Regions from separate parts of the Homo sapiens genome. Here regions 1, 2, 4 and 5 are each linked to region 3. The links are contacts of gene promoters, found by promoter capture Hi-C in blood cells and fetal thymus (Javierre and others, 2016). All regions are on one chromosome and are shown on one strand. The core of a region is centred on a gene start or on the middle of the fragment in contact, and the rest is flanking DNA. Distances in the headings are between cores, read along the strand shown. Region 1 overlaps THAP4 (THAP domain containing 4). Region 2 holds the start of RNPEPL1 (arginyl aminopeptidase like 1). Region 3 holds the start of MTERF4 (mitochondrial transcription termination factor 4). Region 4 holds the start of THAP4 (THAP domain containing 4). Region 5 overlaps DTYMK (deoxythymidylate kinase).

Region 1 (2,700 bases), core at 52-2,551, 510 kb after region 3:
GAGCGAAACTCCATCTCAAAACAAAAACAAAAACAAAAACAAAAACAAAACTAAGGAATGCCTTCTTCAAGTTCCTCTGGAACAGTCATGCAAACTGGCCTTCTAAATGGTCAAAGAAAGCCTGTAAGTTCCAGAAAGCAGAAAGAAGTCTACTGTCTGATCACAATGCAGTGAGACTAGAAATGAAAATCAATCAGGTGTCCCTTGAAAACACTGCGCGAAAAGAAAGAAGCCAGACAAAAACGTATATATTCTATGATTCCAATTAGATGAAATTCGAGACCAGGCAGAAAGGATGGAGGGTGGGGAATCTGAACGGTGACGGGGAGGGGCTTGGAGGGGAGTGCAAAGGAGAACCTGGACCGCTGGACGTGGGTGTGGCTGCACAAGCGCCTGCACCTGCCAAAACTCACCACGGGAACACCTAGGAGCTTGTGTTTCACTTATGCGAATTACACCTCAATAAAAATGTTATAAAGAAAAACCTCCCCAAACAAATTAATATTTCAAAAAGCAGAAAACTTAAAAAAACTAAAAGCATTTTATCCCAAGAGTGTTTACTATGTTACTGCAGCACAGGGTTCTGGGTGGCCTCAGAGCAGGGGATGTGGTGGGGAGTGAGGTCGGCCTCACAGCTCAGGGCCTTGGCTCCTGGCCCCAGGGTCTGCTGCCATCCAAGCTGCAGCACCTACTGCAGATCTAATATTTCGAGAAAAGCCAGAAGCTGATTTTAGGCTAAAATATCCCAATTTCTAAACATCTGTTCAAATTAAAACAAATGACACCACTGTGGTGTGAGTCGCATACCTTGGGGCAGGTGCAGAGGGCCAGAGAGGGCTGGAGCCACACACAGCGCCCTGCCCGGTGCCTCTCACCTCCCACCTCTCCTCTTCACTCCTCTCTTCTCCCAGGTGGGAGTGAGGACGCCACTGGCAGCCACCCAGCACATCCCCGTGCCCCAAGCCCACGGTTCCCGACACATCAGGAGAGCTCTTCGCCGCCCTCAGCCGTGTTTCTGAGTAGGTTTCGCGTTCCTCAGGATGCTGGGGAGCTGGTTCTAGACACAGGCCCAGCCCGGCTGGCCTGGAAGCAAGGAGGGCGCCCATGGGGACACACTCTGCCCCAGTCCTGCAGCTGGAGCAGCCCAGAGCCCCTGCCACAAGACGCCTGGGAGAACTCAGTCAGGGGGCTGGCAAGGACAGGTGAGCACAGCTGGCTCCTCAGAAGAACTGGGCTTATCTGAAGTCTGGTCAAGTTGAACTGGACCATCTATTCCCCCAAGTGGGCCTGGATGGGCCAGAACCTTTTACGTAGGAGGGACGTGGCCCGGGCTTTCTGCCTCGACGACTAGCCCAAGGGAGATGGAAATGAGAGTGAGATAAGAGGGATGGGTGGGCTGGAGATGGCCAGCAGCTGGCATTGCTGGCAGCTTGGAAGGCGACCCGTGACATCAGTGAGAAGGGCGGGTGCAGGCGCACGAGAGCTGAGGGCGAGCCCTGGCATCAGGACCAGAGAGGCCCACCACAGAGCGGGTAAGCAGTGGCACCTGAGCAGGGGGATGGTGTCCTGGTAAGAACAGGTAGGGAGAGGCTGCCTCAAAAATTCTGGCTAAAAGTGAGCTTTTGAGTGGACTTTGCTATGTGCATGCCAGGTCAGGGAAGCAAGTCCCGCGGGCCCTGGAGAGAAGCTACCCTGCAGGCGGCTGCTGCTTCAGGGGCACAGGGCCCACACCACACTTGGGGACAGGACAGGACGCAGCACTTATGTGGCAATTTCTTTTTAAAAAACTAGAGAATTCTAAGATAGCTCTGAAATTCAGAAGAAACGCTTTTGAGCAGAAAAAATAACATCAGACTGGAAAGGAAGGAGCACGCGGCTAAGCAACTAGATGGAGGCTTACGGCTGTGAGCAACTAATGGCTGTGAGAAATACTTCCCTTCCTGTCGCCCTCCTGGCTTGCTGTTATTTGCTCTGAATCTTAATGGAGTTTAATTTGGACAGGGACAACAGGTCAGGCAGTAAACAAGCAGCGGCGGCGCCTCCTTCTGTCTACACTGCACCTCACCAGGTTAACCTGCTCCTGGGGCCGCTCCCCCTGCACCCTCCACCACTTCGGGCCGCGTGGAACGTGGCAGCAGCCTAGCCACTGTCCCTCCTTGTTGTCACTGAAGCATGGGTGGGGGTGAGGACGACCAGTAAGAGAATTTTAGAATCCAAACATCAGGTTACTTGAGCCTAGATATATGTTAAGATCCATCAAACTGTGACCTCAATATCTGTGTATTTTACTCTCTGTAAATTATACTTCATTAGAAAAAAATAAATTTAAACATGAAACAAAAAATACTATAAAGGACCTAGTCTATTTGTCACTTTCCACCTCTTTAAATAAACCAGACAGGCTTTTCTAGGCATTTCTTTTCTGATTTCATTTTTCTTTTATTGAAATCTCAACCAAAACACAAAAACAAAAATTTAAATTTCCTGCAAGAAATTTAAATTTTCATGTTTTGGCCCAAGACACTGAAAGCAGGCTTACCCATCCCTAAGTTTTCTAAACTCCGGACACTCGTCAAGGTTCCTCAAGGTTGTTTTCTGCCAATTGACGGGAAATGTTTGCACCTGGCTCTTAATGGCTCTGCAGGAAGTGAATGCTAACTTTAAATGGTGCATTCTGGGAATTGTAGTTCCACTATGAAA
Region 2 (2,700 bases), core at 167-2,666, 530 kb before region 3:
GCCTTGGATGCGAGGCTGATCCACACCTCTGAGTGACTGTGTAAGCCTAGGGGTTCCTGGTGAGTTTGGGATGGGTGCCCCAAGATCGTGGCCGTGTCCCTAAAGAGGGCACGTGGGGACCTGAGGTCCTACGGGAAAACTGAAATGATGCCTCAGTGCTCTGTCCCGCAAACGTGAACGCACACTCTCCCTCTCAGCCTTCCTTCCCGCCCCACGGAAGGAGGGTAGACACAGAGGGTTACACAACGAGGAGACTGAGTCCAGACACAGGAAACACTACTCAGGGCTGACGCTGAGTCGAGTGCGGTACCCGAGTCCAGCCCTGCACGGCCACACCTCAATGGAGCAGAAGAGAGAGGTGTCCTGGGTTCCTGGATAGTTCCCCAGCCCCAGAAGCCCCTTGTCCCTAGGAATTTGAATTCTTACTTGATGACAACAGCGACATCATGGTGGCCCCTGTTATTCCACAGCCTCAAAATTTAACCGCTGTGAGCTCACTAGCAGCTTCTGCCAGGCGAGCACCCCTTCCCTCGGGGCTCAGGCTCCTGGACAGGCTCAGCCTTGGGCAGCCTTCGCCAGGTCCACAGAGAATGGCGTTGGGAAGGGTGGACCTGGCGGATGGGGTGGGGACAGGCGGGCCAGACCCTCCTTCGTACCCCAGCACAGGGCTCCCAAATGAGAGGTCCCCAGCACTGCCCAGAGGAACTTCTGCGATTGTGGAAATGATTCCTGCCTGCTTTGTCCATTAGCCACTCCTCCCAGGAAGACACACACACTCACTCACTCCACCTGCCACGAAGGAACTGAACTTCTAACTGTATTTAATTCGCATCTAAATGGCCACACGTGGTTGGTGGCTGCTGTAGTTGACAGCGCTGCGTGAAGGCTCCGGCGCTTCTCGCACCGCAGGGCCCACAGCACAGACCACACCTGTAGACTTGGAGGAGTGGCAGGGGTGCCAGGAGAATCCTGCCCTGCCCGTAGCCCCGGATGAAAGGATGACATTGAGTTCGCGACGCTGCGCTCCTCGGGAACACGAACCACACCTGGAAGCAGCCTGCCCCTGTGGCCCCAAGGTTCCCGGGTCCCTTCAGCGGCTGCCCCAGGGGCCTGGCCGGCAGTGTCTGGGAGGGAGCAGCGATCCCGCCTCCTGGGATCTCCCGGGCGCCGCCCGGGGAGGAAGCGAGGGGCTGGGGGTGCTGCTCACCCGCTCCGCGCGCCTCGGCTCCCAACACAGCGCCCCGGCCCCGCGCCGCGCTCGATTCCCCGGCTCCCCGCGCCCCTGGCTCCTGGCCCTCCCCGCCCGGCGCCCCGGCCCCGCGCCCCGGCCCCGCGCACAGCGCCCCCGGCGGCGGCCGAGCGGAGCCCGAGCGGGGCGGCGCACGGCGCGGGGCCGGGCCGGGCGGCTCCCGGCGCGACTTCCTGTTGTGCCCGCGCCCCGCCGCCGCCGCCGCCCGGCGCCCCTCGCCCGCGGCCCGGCGCGGCCGCCGCCCATGGATTTCACCTAGTGCCGGCGGCCATGGCCGCGCAGTGCTGCTGCCGCCAGGCGCCCGGCGCCGAGGCCGCGCCCGTCCGCCCGCCGCCCGAGCCGCCGCCCGCCCTGGACGTGGCCTCGGCCTCCAGCGCGCAGCTCTTCCGCCTCCGCCACCTGCAGCTGGGCCTGGAGCTGCGGCCCGAGGCGCGCGAGTTGGCCGGCTGCCTGGTGCTCGAGCTGTGCGCGCTGCGGCCCGCGCCCCGCGCGCTCGTGCTCGACGCGCACCCGGCTCTGCGCCTGCACTCAGCCGCCTTCCGTCGCGCCCCCGCCGCCGCCGCCGAGACGCCCTGCGCCTTCGCCTTCTCCGCCCCCGGGCCGGGGCCCGCGCCGCCGCCCCCGCTGCCCGCCTTCCCCGAGGCGCCCGGCTCCGAGCCCGCCTGCTGTCCGCTGGCCTTCAGGGTGGACCCGTTCACCGACTACGGCTCCTCGCTCACCGTCACGCTGCCGCCCGAGCTGCAGGCGCACCAGCCCTTCCAGGTCATCCTGCGGTACACCTCGACCGACGCCCCCGCCGTGAGTCCGGGGCGGGCGCCGGGGCTGCGGGCCGGTCCGCAGGGCGCTGCTAGCGGCCTCTCGCCGCACGGCCAGGCTGAGGGACGCGAATCTGCGCCCTACAGGTGCCCCCCTCCCCCCACCCCGGTGATTCCCAGCTGTTGCCTGTGAGCCCTTAGGACCCTCGGATAGAAGCCGGAGTCCTGCGGGGACACGGGACAGCATGTCACTCCGGGAAGCCTCCCGTTCAGGTGTCTGGTCCCTGCCTGGGGACATGAGCAGCTTCTGTCACCCACCGAGGTGTACATCTGCAGGATCCTGGCACCAAGGGTTGGGCTGGAGTGTCAGCTGCGGAAGGGCCTCCATGTGACCAGTGCGTGCAGATGAGTCCAAGCCAGAGGCAGAGGAAAGGGCCATGGAGATTGTGATGCTCGGTTTGGGGCTTCCTTGGCCAGCACTGGTGGAGTGTTGAGACCAGTGGGCCCCGCGACCCCAACATAGACACACATAGGCTCTGCAGGGCTTGCACACTGGGTACCCACCACTCCAGAGACTCTGCAAGAAAGGCCAGGTGGCTGAGGCTGGCGCTGTGGCTGCAGCACCCCCTCCACCTCCACCAGTGGGGATGTGTACAGGATGGAGCAGGGCCTTTCCTGCCTACAGCATGGGGGTTC
Region 3 (2,700 bases), core at 1-2,500:
ATGGAAGACAATTTTTCCACAGACTGGTGAGGGGTTTCAGGATGATTCAAGCATATTACATTTGTTGTGCACTTTATTTCTGTTATTTTCACGTTGTAATATAAGATGAAATAATTATACAACTCACCATAATGTAGAATCACTGGGAGCCCTGAGCTTGTTTTCCTACAACCAGGAGGTGCCATCTGGGGTTGATGGGAAACAGTGACAGATCATCGGGCATCAGATTCTCATAAGGAGCGCAACCTGGACCCCTCAAAGGCGCAGTTCACAATAGGGTTCGCGCTCCAGTGAGAATCTAAGGCGGCTGGTCTGACAGGAGGCGGAGCTCAGGCGGTAATGCCAGCGAAGGGAGCGGCTGTAAATACAGTCTGGCTGGCTCACTTGCCGCTCACCTCCTGCTGTGCAGCCTGGTTCCTAATAGGCAAGGGACGGTACCGGGGGTTGGGGAACCCCTGCTCTAAAACCTTCACATCGGTCCCAACCCCTTCTCCAGCGTCATCGATTGTCGCCCTGGGGCCACCCTGCCAAGCCCAAGCTCTGGCTGCTCTCCAGCCTCCCCTGTCCAGATGCTCCCTCCGCCAGGAACACCTGGCAGTCGCTGGGGTCAGCGGGCGCGGCCCGTGGAACTGGGCTCAAGCCTAAAGACCTCTATGCTGATTCCGCTTCCTCTTAATGAAAAGTACATGTTATCTTCCTTGTGAAGTTCAAACTCTTGTTCAACAGTCAACTCAGGCCGGGCGCGGTGGCTCACGCCTGTAATCCCAGCACTTTGGGAGTTCGAGGCGGGTGGATCACCTGAGGCCAGAAGTTACAGACCAGACTGGCCAACACGGTGAAACCCCGTCTCTACTAAAAATACAAAAATTAGCCAGGCATGGTGGCGGGCGCCTGTAATCCCAGCTACTTGGGAGGCTGAAGCAGTAGAATTGCTTGAACCCGGGAGGCGGAGGTTGCAGTGAGCCGAGATCGCGCCATTGCACTCCAGCCTGGAGACAGAGCGAGACTTTGTCTCAAAAAAAAAAAATGTCAACTCTATATCCCACAATAATTGAGCAGAGCCACGGGTCCAGGATGCCAAAACCAGGTCAGCGTGCACGGACCTCCGGGAGGGCTCCACGACCTGGCCGTGAAACACTCGGCGGCCGCGGTTCCTCTGCGTCGCTGCCCGCCCGCCTGCGACCCGGAGAAGCCCGCGCGCCCAGCTCGAGCTTACCTGACGGCCGAACGCAGCCATAGCGCGGAGAAGATGGCAGCAGTTACGGCGCCGGAAGCAGCGGTCCTCCCCCGTCCTTCACTTCCGGCCCCCGGTCCGTCACCGACGCCGTTCCCAGCGCCAGCGCGGTGTGGTGGATCGTGATTCCGGCCCGGAGCTGTGCTGAGCGTTCACGGCCCCGCGGGGCTCAGGTGTCCCGGGGCCGCCCCTTAGAAAGCCGGAAGGCCGGAGTCGCGCCCGTCACCGTGCCGCCGCCTCTGCCGCGGCCTCAGCCTTCGGGGGCCTCGGTGTCCGGTTGTTCCCGTTGCACTGCCGTGTCCCGTTTCGCAGAGCTCTGGGCCGCGTGAACGAATGGGTCGTCCTGGCCCATACTTGTGTTTCAGATGACCTGAGAATTCCTCTCAAGAGTACAGGTAGAGGGGAACTGGTTCCTTGCTTCGGGAACTTCACCCGAGAGCGCAGAAATCCTTCCCGAGGCAGGAAAAATGGATTCCGTTCCATGTAGAGATATTTAAGATTTTATTGTGTAAAAATCTGTATTCAGCGTGAACACCGGGGCCACCTACGCACAAAAAGAAGTCTTTACCGCTTTTCTTTCTTTTTACTCTCAGCCAGTGGAAGATGAGAATTTGCCGTTTTTAAAAGACCCAAGTAAAATGACAGGAATTACGGCACATTTCCCTTTATAAGCAAGAGCCTTCCCAACTTCGAGGTCTGGTTCCCTCTTAGGATGAAATATAGTAAAGTTTTAGCCCAATGTGTATTCATTCTTAAATTTCCTCTCTCGACCTAAGAGCGTAGGCATCTTTCACAAGGTGATGCTTGTGAAGAATAAAAAGGTGTGCTTTCTCAGCTGCCTAAATCCTGCCACCAAAGCCTTAATTTATAAGCATTTCTTGTTTTATCTACTTCATTCTGGACTGACATAAAGGATTTGATTCTTGCATGGGCACACATTTACATATCTGCTTTGCGCCAGGCATGGAGTGGGGTGCCAAACAATTTATGTAAAACTGTCTTTTGACAAAAGGATTATGTCAAAGAAAAGGAAGGTTCTAATCCGTGTAGAAACTAAAGAATTGGTTGCTTTGGCAGAGTGCAGTGGCCCACGCCTGTAATCCCAGCACTGTGAGAGGCTGAGGTGGGGGGGATTGCCTGGGCTCAGGAGTTCAAGACCAACCTGAGCAACATAGGAAAATCCTGTCTCTACAAAAAATAAAAAATTAGCCGGGAGTAGTGGCGTGCACCTGTAGTCCCAGCTACTCAGGAGCCTGAAGTGGGAGGATCACTTGAGTCCAGGAGGTTGAGGCTGCAGTGAGCCATGATTGCACCACTGCACTCCAGCCTGCGTAACAGAGCAAGACCTTGTCTCAAAAAACAAAAGGAAAAAAAAAATTGGTTGCCTTTGTTGTTTTTTATAATGTAATTTTCTTCTCAAAATACTCAACTGTCAACATCTCACAATAAATTGTGTTAATGCTACA
Region 4 (2,700 bases), core at 201-2,700, 530 kb after region 3:
GCAGTGAGCCGAGATCGCACCAATGCACTCCAGCCTGGGCGACAGAGGGAGACTCCTTCTCAAAAAAAAGAGAAAAAAAGAAAAAAAAACCAGGCCCTAATGTGCACATAAGGGACAGGGTGGTCAGTTCTAACTGCTATTTGCTCCACCTGAGGCCAGTGTGGACCAGGACAAATCCTAACAGGATGGACTGGGCCGTTCTAAGCAACAGGACCTTCTAACCTCCTTTCTGAACACTGTGAGGCCAACTGCAAAGGTACCCCCCCACCCCCAATTCCGATGTCCTTTCCTCCCATACCATGTTAGACCGTTGCAACACGTTGCCTCGTTTTCAAAAAACAATAACAAAACTTCTAGGACACAAGCTCTGAAGGAAATTGTCAAGAAAGTGCGCTGGCTGACTTGTGAAATAATCTAATGTTACTAATTCTTATAATACATTGTAATGATTTAAGACTTACAGCAAACTACTGTGAACTTTCAATAACCCTATAAATAACACGTGCCATTCCCGTCTTTAAAACTTAAATAACACCATGCAACATAAAACAGAAACATCTCCAAAGTGGTTTTTAAAGTCTGTTCGCGGTTCTGGTGCCTCCCGCGTGTAATCCGCAGAAATCTCACTGAAATAGGCTGAACTCACAAGGCCTTAGAGGGGTTTGGGCCCTGCCGCGGGGGCCCACGTGGGAAGCGGCCGAGAGCCCCGGGCCAGGCTCTAAGGGAGCGCAGGAGGATGCCGTCCCCAGCCGGCCGTCCCGTAGACTCTCCGCGCGTACCCGCGTCCTGGGCTCGGGGGCCCAGTCCCGGAAAGCCCTCTCGGGGGCTGTCAGCTACGGAGGCGCAGGTCGCGTCTGCCCGGTCGCTCCTGCTCGCAGACATCCAGGCCGACGGCCCGCGCGGTCCGGAGAGTCAGCAGTCGCGGCCGAGCAGGACAATCGGCCCAGGACCTGCGCTTCCAGAGCGTGCGGCTTCTGAAGCCTAGGCGCCGGCCGGATCGATCGCGCGCAGGGCGGACCCAGGCGGCCGGGGTGGGGGCGGCTGCGCTGCCCGAGGCGCCCGGCCCAGAGACGGCGGCCGGGCCAAGGTCACACAGCGCCCACGCCCGCTCCCCCGCGCCCCGGCCGCCGAGGCCCGGCGCCCCCGCCCCCCGCGTTCGGGCCGGCCGCGGGGCCTCAGTTTCCCCGCAGGGCCGGGTCGGGGCGGGGGCGTGGCGGCCCGGGGCCCGCGTACCTGTGGAAGGAGACGGCGCGCTTCTCGCCCTTTCCCTGCCGGTTGGAGCAGTTCACGGCCGCACAGCAGATCACCATCGCGGGCCTTGGCCCAGCCGCGCAGCCAGGCCCCGGCCCTAGCCGCCCGCCCGCCCGCGGACCGCCCCGAGGGAGGGAGCGCGGCGGCGACACGGCTCGGGACGTGGGCCGGCCCGCGGCGTCCGCGCCGTACGGCAAGATGGAGGCGCAGGCGCCCGCAGCGGGCCCGCCCCCGCCCCAGCCCCCGCCCGCGTCCTCGCCAGCCGCGGGTTCGGGCGTCTTCGGACCAGCGGGGCGCCGCAGGCCCCTCGCAGCGTCCGTCGGCAGGCGGGCAGACGGGCGGGGGAGTCGCCCCGGCGGGGCAAGTCCGTACCGCGACATGGGCGCGCCGAGCACGTCCGTACCGCAAGATGGCTGCTCGGACGGGGACAGAGCTCGCCTCTGCCGCCTCGACAACTGCTCCTGGGTCCTCTAAGAGGAGGAAGCGCCACCCATGGCACACAGTGTCCCGTCGGACAGCAGAACCAGCCGTCGTCCCACGACACGACCCCATGCCGCCCGCAGGGCGCCCCGGGGCTCGCGTCGGCCCGGCCGTACGCCAAAATGGCGGCTCCCGCGTATTTCCGCTCGCGCGCCGTATCGTCTTCGCCGCCTGCGCCGGCACACCTATTGGCCCCCGCGGCGTCCCGTCGCCGCGTCGCGTTGCTGGCCCGTCGGAGCGACGCCGCTCGGGTCAGTCGGCGGCCGGACTGGGAAGATGGACGCAGGTGAGGAGTTGCCGGGGGTCGGTCTTTCCGCAGGAGGTGCTCGCCTTATCATTGGCCTCCCCTGCTCGGGTCGGGCTGCCGCGACTCGCCTCGGGGCACGCCGGTGCGGGCCAGGCTGGGCCGGGGCGGCGGGCGCTGCGGGAGCGCGGGGCGGTGTTGGTGGGTGGTGGGCGGTGGGAGCGGGAGGGGGACGGCGGCGCACTGCGCCGCGGAACCCGCCGTCGGTTGCGCTGGAGCTTCTGCTTTTCCGGTCCCGTCCGGAGCGCTCCGGAGGTTGTGGCTGCACAGGCCCTTGCGCCAGGTCGGCCGTGGAGGGCGGCGGAGCCTGCCGGGCGGGGAGAGGCGCGGCGGCGAACGGGGCGGCCGCGGTCCGGGCCGGGGACGCGAGCGGCGGGCGAAAGCGTAGCCTTTCCGCAGCTGAGCGTGAAGGGATGGAAGCTCTTTAACTTTTATGAAGTTATTGGTAGGTTGGAGGAGAGAAACGTGACGTGTTCATCACAGTATACGTATCTTTTTTGTTTTTGTCTTCAATTTAGTAACCAGTAGATTCTCCAAGCTGCTTTTCCGTGACGAGAAAGAGAAACAGTGAATTTGTATCATCGGGTCTTAGTTTCTTGGGGTCCTAAGAGAGAGAGAAAGAGAAGGAGTGTGTGTGTGTGTGTATAGGGAGTGTTGGTTTTTTT
Region 5 (2,700 bases), core at 7-2,506, 580 kb after region 3:
GAACCCGGGAGGTCGAGGCTGCAGTAAGCTGTGATTGCGCACTGCACTCAGCCTGCATGACACAGAGACCCTGTCTAAAAAAAGAAAAGAGAGAAAGAGAGTGAGAAAACAGAAAAGGCAAACCACAGCCTAGGAGAAAATATGTATAAAAGACACATTTTATAAAGGACTGTTATCTAAAGCATACAAAGAATTCTTAAAACTCAAAAATAAGAAATCAACCAACCCCCTTAAAAAGTGGGCCAAGGCTGGGCGTAATGGCTCATGCCTATATTCCCAACACTTTGGGAGGCGGAGGCAGGCTCATCACTTGAGCCCAGGAATTTGAGTCCAACCTGGGAAACATGGTGAAACCACATTTCCTCAAAAAATACAAAATTGGCCGGGCATGGTGGCTCGTGCCTGTAATCCCAGCACTTTGGGAGGCTAAAGCAGGTGGATCACCTGAGGTCAGGAGTTCAAGACCAGCCTGGCCAACATGACGAAACCCCATCACTAACTAAAAAATAGAAAAATTAGCCGGGCGTGGTGGTGGGCACCTGTGATCACAGCTACTTGAGAGGCTGAGGCAGGAGAATCGCTTGAACCTGCGAGGCGTAGGTTGCAGTGAGCCAAGATCGCCCCATTGCACTCCAGTCTGGGCGACAAGAATGAAACTGTCTCGAGGAAAACAAAAAAGAAATACAAAACTTAGCATGGTGGCATGCACCTGTAGTCCCAGCTACTTGGGAGGCTAAGGCAGGAGGATCGCTTGAGCCTGGGAAGTAGAGGCTGCAGTGAGCCAAGACCGTGCCACTGTACTCTAGCCTGGTTGAGACCCTGTCCCAAAAAAAAGAGTGGGCCAAAGCACTCAACAGATCCCTTACGAAACCAGATACACAGATGGCAAACAAGCATATGAAAAGATACTCCACATCATATGTCAGCAGGGAAATGCAAACTAGAACAATGAGATGCCACACACACCTATCAGAATGGCAAACATCCAAACACTGACAACACCAAATGCTGGTGAGGGTCTGGAGCAATAGCAACCCTTGTTCACTGCTGGTGAGAATGCAAGATGCTGCAGCCACTTTGGAAGACAGTTCACCACAAGCTTGTCCAACCCAAGGCCCGCAGGCTGCATGCAGCCCAACACAAATTTGTTAAGCTTTCTCAAAACGTTACGAGATTTTTTTTTTTAAGCTCATCAGCAATTGTTAGTGTATTTTATGCGTGGCCCAAGACATTTCTTCCAATGTGGCCCAGGGAAGCCAAAAGACTGGATACCCATGGTTTAGCAGTTCTTCACAAAAATTAATAGTCTTACCACATATTAAAGCAGTGGTGCTCCCTGGCATTTACCCAAAAGAAGTGAAAGCTTATGACCACACAAAATCCTGCACCAGGATGTTTATAACAGATTTATAACTGCCAAAACTTGGAAGCAACAAAGATGTCCTTTAGTAGGTAATGAACTATGGTACATCCAAACAAGGGACTATTAATTAGGGCAAAAAAGACATGAACTATTGGTCGGGCATGGTGGCTCATGCCTGTAATCCCAGCACTGTGGGAGGCCGACGTGGGAGGATCACTTGAGGTCAGGAGTTCAAGACCACCCTGGCCAACATGGTGAAACCCTGTCTCTACTAAAACATAAAAATTAGCTGTGCATGGTCGTACGCGCCTGTAATCCCAGCTACTCAGGAGGCTGAGGCAGGAGAAATGCTTGAACCCGGGAGGCGGCGGTTGCAGTGAGCCGAGACTGAGCCACTGCACTCCAACCTGAGCAACACAACGAGACTCTTGTCTCAAAAAAAACCAAAACAAAACAACAAAAAAAAACTATCAAGCCACAGTTAGACATAGAGGAAACTTAAATATCTATTAGGGAAACAAGTAACCTGTAGGAGAATAGATGGACACAAGAGACGTAGCCCTGGGTACCTGGGATAAGATTATTATCTAAAAAGTAAAATCAGGATTATTCTTCATTTTAAATTGGGCATATACGTGTTTCATCACTTTTCTACAAAGCCACAAAAAGCAAAATCAGAAGAACAATTGCCTCCATAAATTCTAGATGTGTTAAAAAGATTATTAAAAATGGTCTCATTTTCATTTAAGACTTGGAGTGGGGACAGCCTTTCCAAGCAAGACACAAAGCTAAGCCGGAGGAGAGTAATGCAGTGTTTCATGTAACACGGATGATGAGGAACCACTGAAGATTCACCAGCAGGGAACTGGCTACACGTACCGTGGTTCTAGAGACAATGCGACGACAATTAAAGAGAATGAGAAGGGCAGAGTTAGGGGATCTGTAAGTGCAGAAATCTGTAAGGCAGAGTTAGAAAGAAAGCTGCCAAATAATTTGTATGGTATGACCTCATTTATGTTAAAAAACAAAATTCTAACTATAGTAGTTTCTACATATGTATATAAATGTAAATAAAAACATTGAAAGAACACACATCAACATTAAGTGTTGAATGAAGAGGAAACCTACTACAATGATGTAAAACAAAAAAAGGTGGTAGGAGAGTTCATATAAACTCAGTTACTAATGTATCAATATTGGTTATCAATTTTAACAAATGTAACATAACACAGCACATAAATAATGGGGAAGGGGGGAAGGCAGGGGTAGTATGTAGGGAGCGCTCTACATACTCTACTTTTTGATCAGTTTTTCTATATACCTAAAGCTATCTTTAA

What was found. Contacts are between HindIII fragments. The CHiCAGO score rates a contact against its expected background, and 5 or more counts as called.
Region 1: a contact is called between a fragment that was not itself captured here and the fragment with the promoter of MTERF4 in region 3, in 1 of 17 cell types (total B cells). The highest score is 7.1, in total B cells.
Region 2: a contact is called between the fragment with the promoter of RNPEPL1 here and the fragment with the promoter of MTERF4 in region 3, in 2 of 17 cell types (non-activated CD4 T cells and naive CD4 T cells). The highest score is 6.0, in non-activated CD4 T cells.
Region 4: a contact is called between the fragment with the promoter of THAP4 here and the fragment with the promoter of MTERF4 in region 3, in 8 of 17 cell types (erythroblasts, naive B cells, M0 macrophages and 5 more). The highest score is 10.3, in erythroblasts.
Region 5: a fragment that was not itself captured here is called in contact with the fragment with the promoter of MTERF4 in region 3 in 1 of 17 cell types (total B cells); the score reaches 6.7 in total B cells.

What each region holds. Positions count from the first base shown.
Region 1 is chr2:241,614,873-241,617,572 of GRCh38, forward strand. The region is part of intron 2 of THAP4 (THAP domain containing 4); the gene reads right to left. Among named protein-coding and RNA genes, the nearest start is that of THAP4, 21 kb to the right of the region's middle. RefSeq lists enhancers at 680-1,486, 2,661-2,700. The HindIII fragment of the contact is 4,628 bases long and covers 1-2,700 here.
Region 2 is chr2:240,567,068-240,569,767 of GRCh38, forward strand. It overlaps RNPEPL1 (arginyl aminopeptidase like 1), which reads left to right and starts at 1,417. Exons shown (of 11, transcript NM_018226.6): 1 at 1,417-2,047. The coding sequence starts at 1,520. RefSeq lists silencers at 1,134-1,393, 1,424-1,483, 1,624-1,813, 2,054-2,103 and enhancers at 1,864-2,502, 2,374-2,553, 2,503-2,700. The HindIII fragment of the contact is 8,327 bases long and covers 1-2,700 here.
Region 3 is chr2:241,101,037-241,103,736 of GRCh38, forward strand. MTERF4 (mitochondrial transcription termination factor 4) reads right to left here and starts at 1,251. Exons shown (of 4, transcript NM_182501.4): 1 at 1,217-1,251. The coding sequence starts at 1,237. RefSeq lists enhancers at 498-1,037, 1,038-1,577. The HindIII fragment of the contact is 6,512 bases long and covers 1-2,700 here.
Region 4 is chr2:241,635,708-241,638,407 of GRCh38, forward strand. It overlaps THAP4 (THAP domain containing 4), which reads right to left and starts at 1,451. Exons shown (of 6, transcript NM_015963.6): 1 at 1,234-1,451. The coding sequence starts at 1,310. ATG4B (autophagy related 4B cysteine peptidase) reads left to right here and starts at 1,986. Exons shown (of 13, transcript NM_013325.5): 1 at 1,986-2,017. The coding sequence starts at 2,008. RefSeq lists silencers at 974-1,113, 1,184-1,253, 1,284-1,633, 2,004-2,053, 2,074-2,263 and 1 more and an enhancer at 1,607-2,534. The HindIII fragment of the contact is 17,924 bases long and covers 1-2,700 here.
Region 5 is chr2:241,682,260-241,684,959 of GRCh38, forward strand. All of the region lies in intron 2 of DTYMK (deoxythymidylate kinase), which reads right to left. Among named protein-coding and RNA genes, the nearest start is that of DTYMK, 3.2 kb to the right of the region's middle. The HindIII fragment of the contact is 210 bases long and covers 1,152-1,361 here.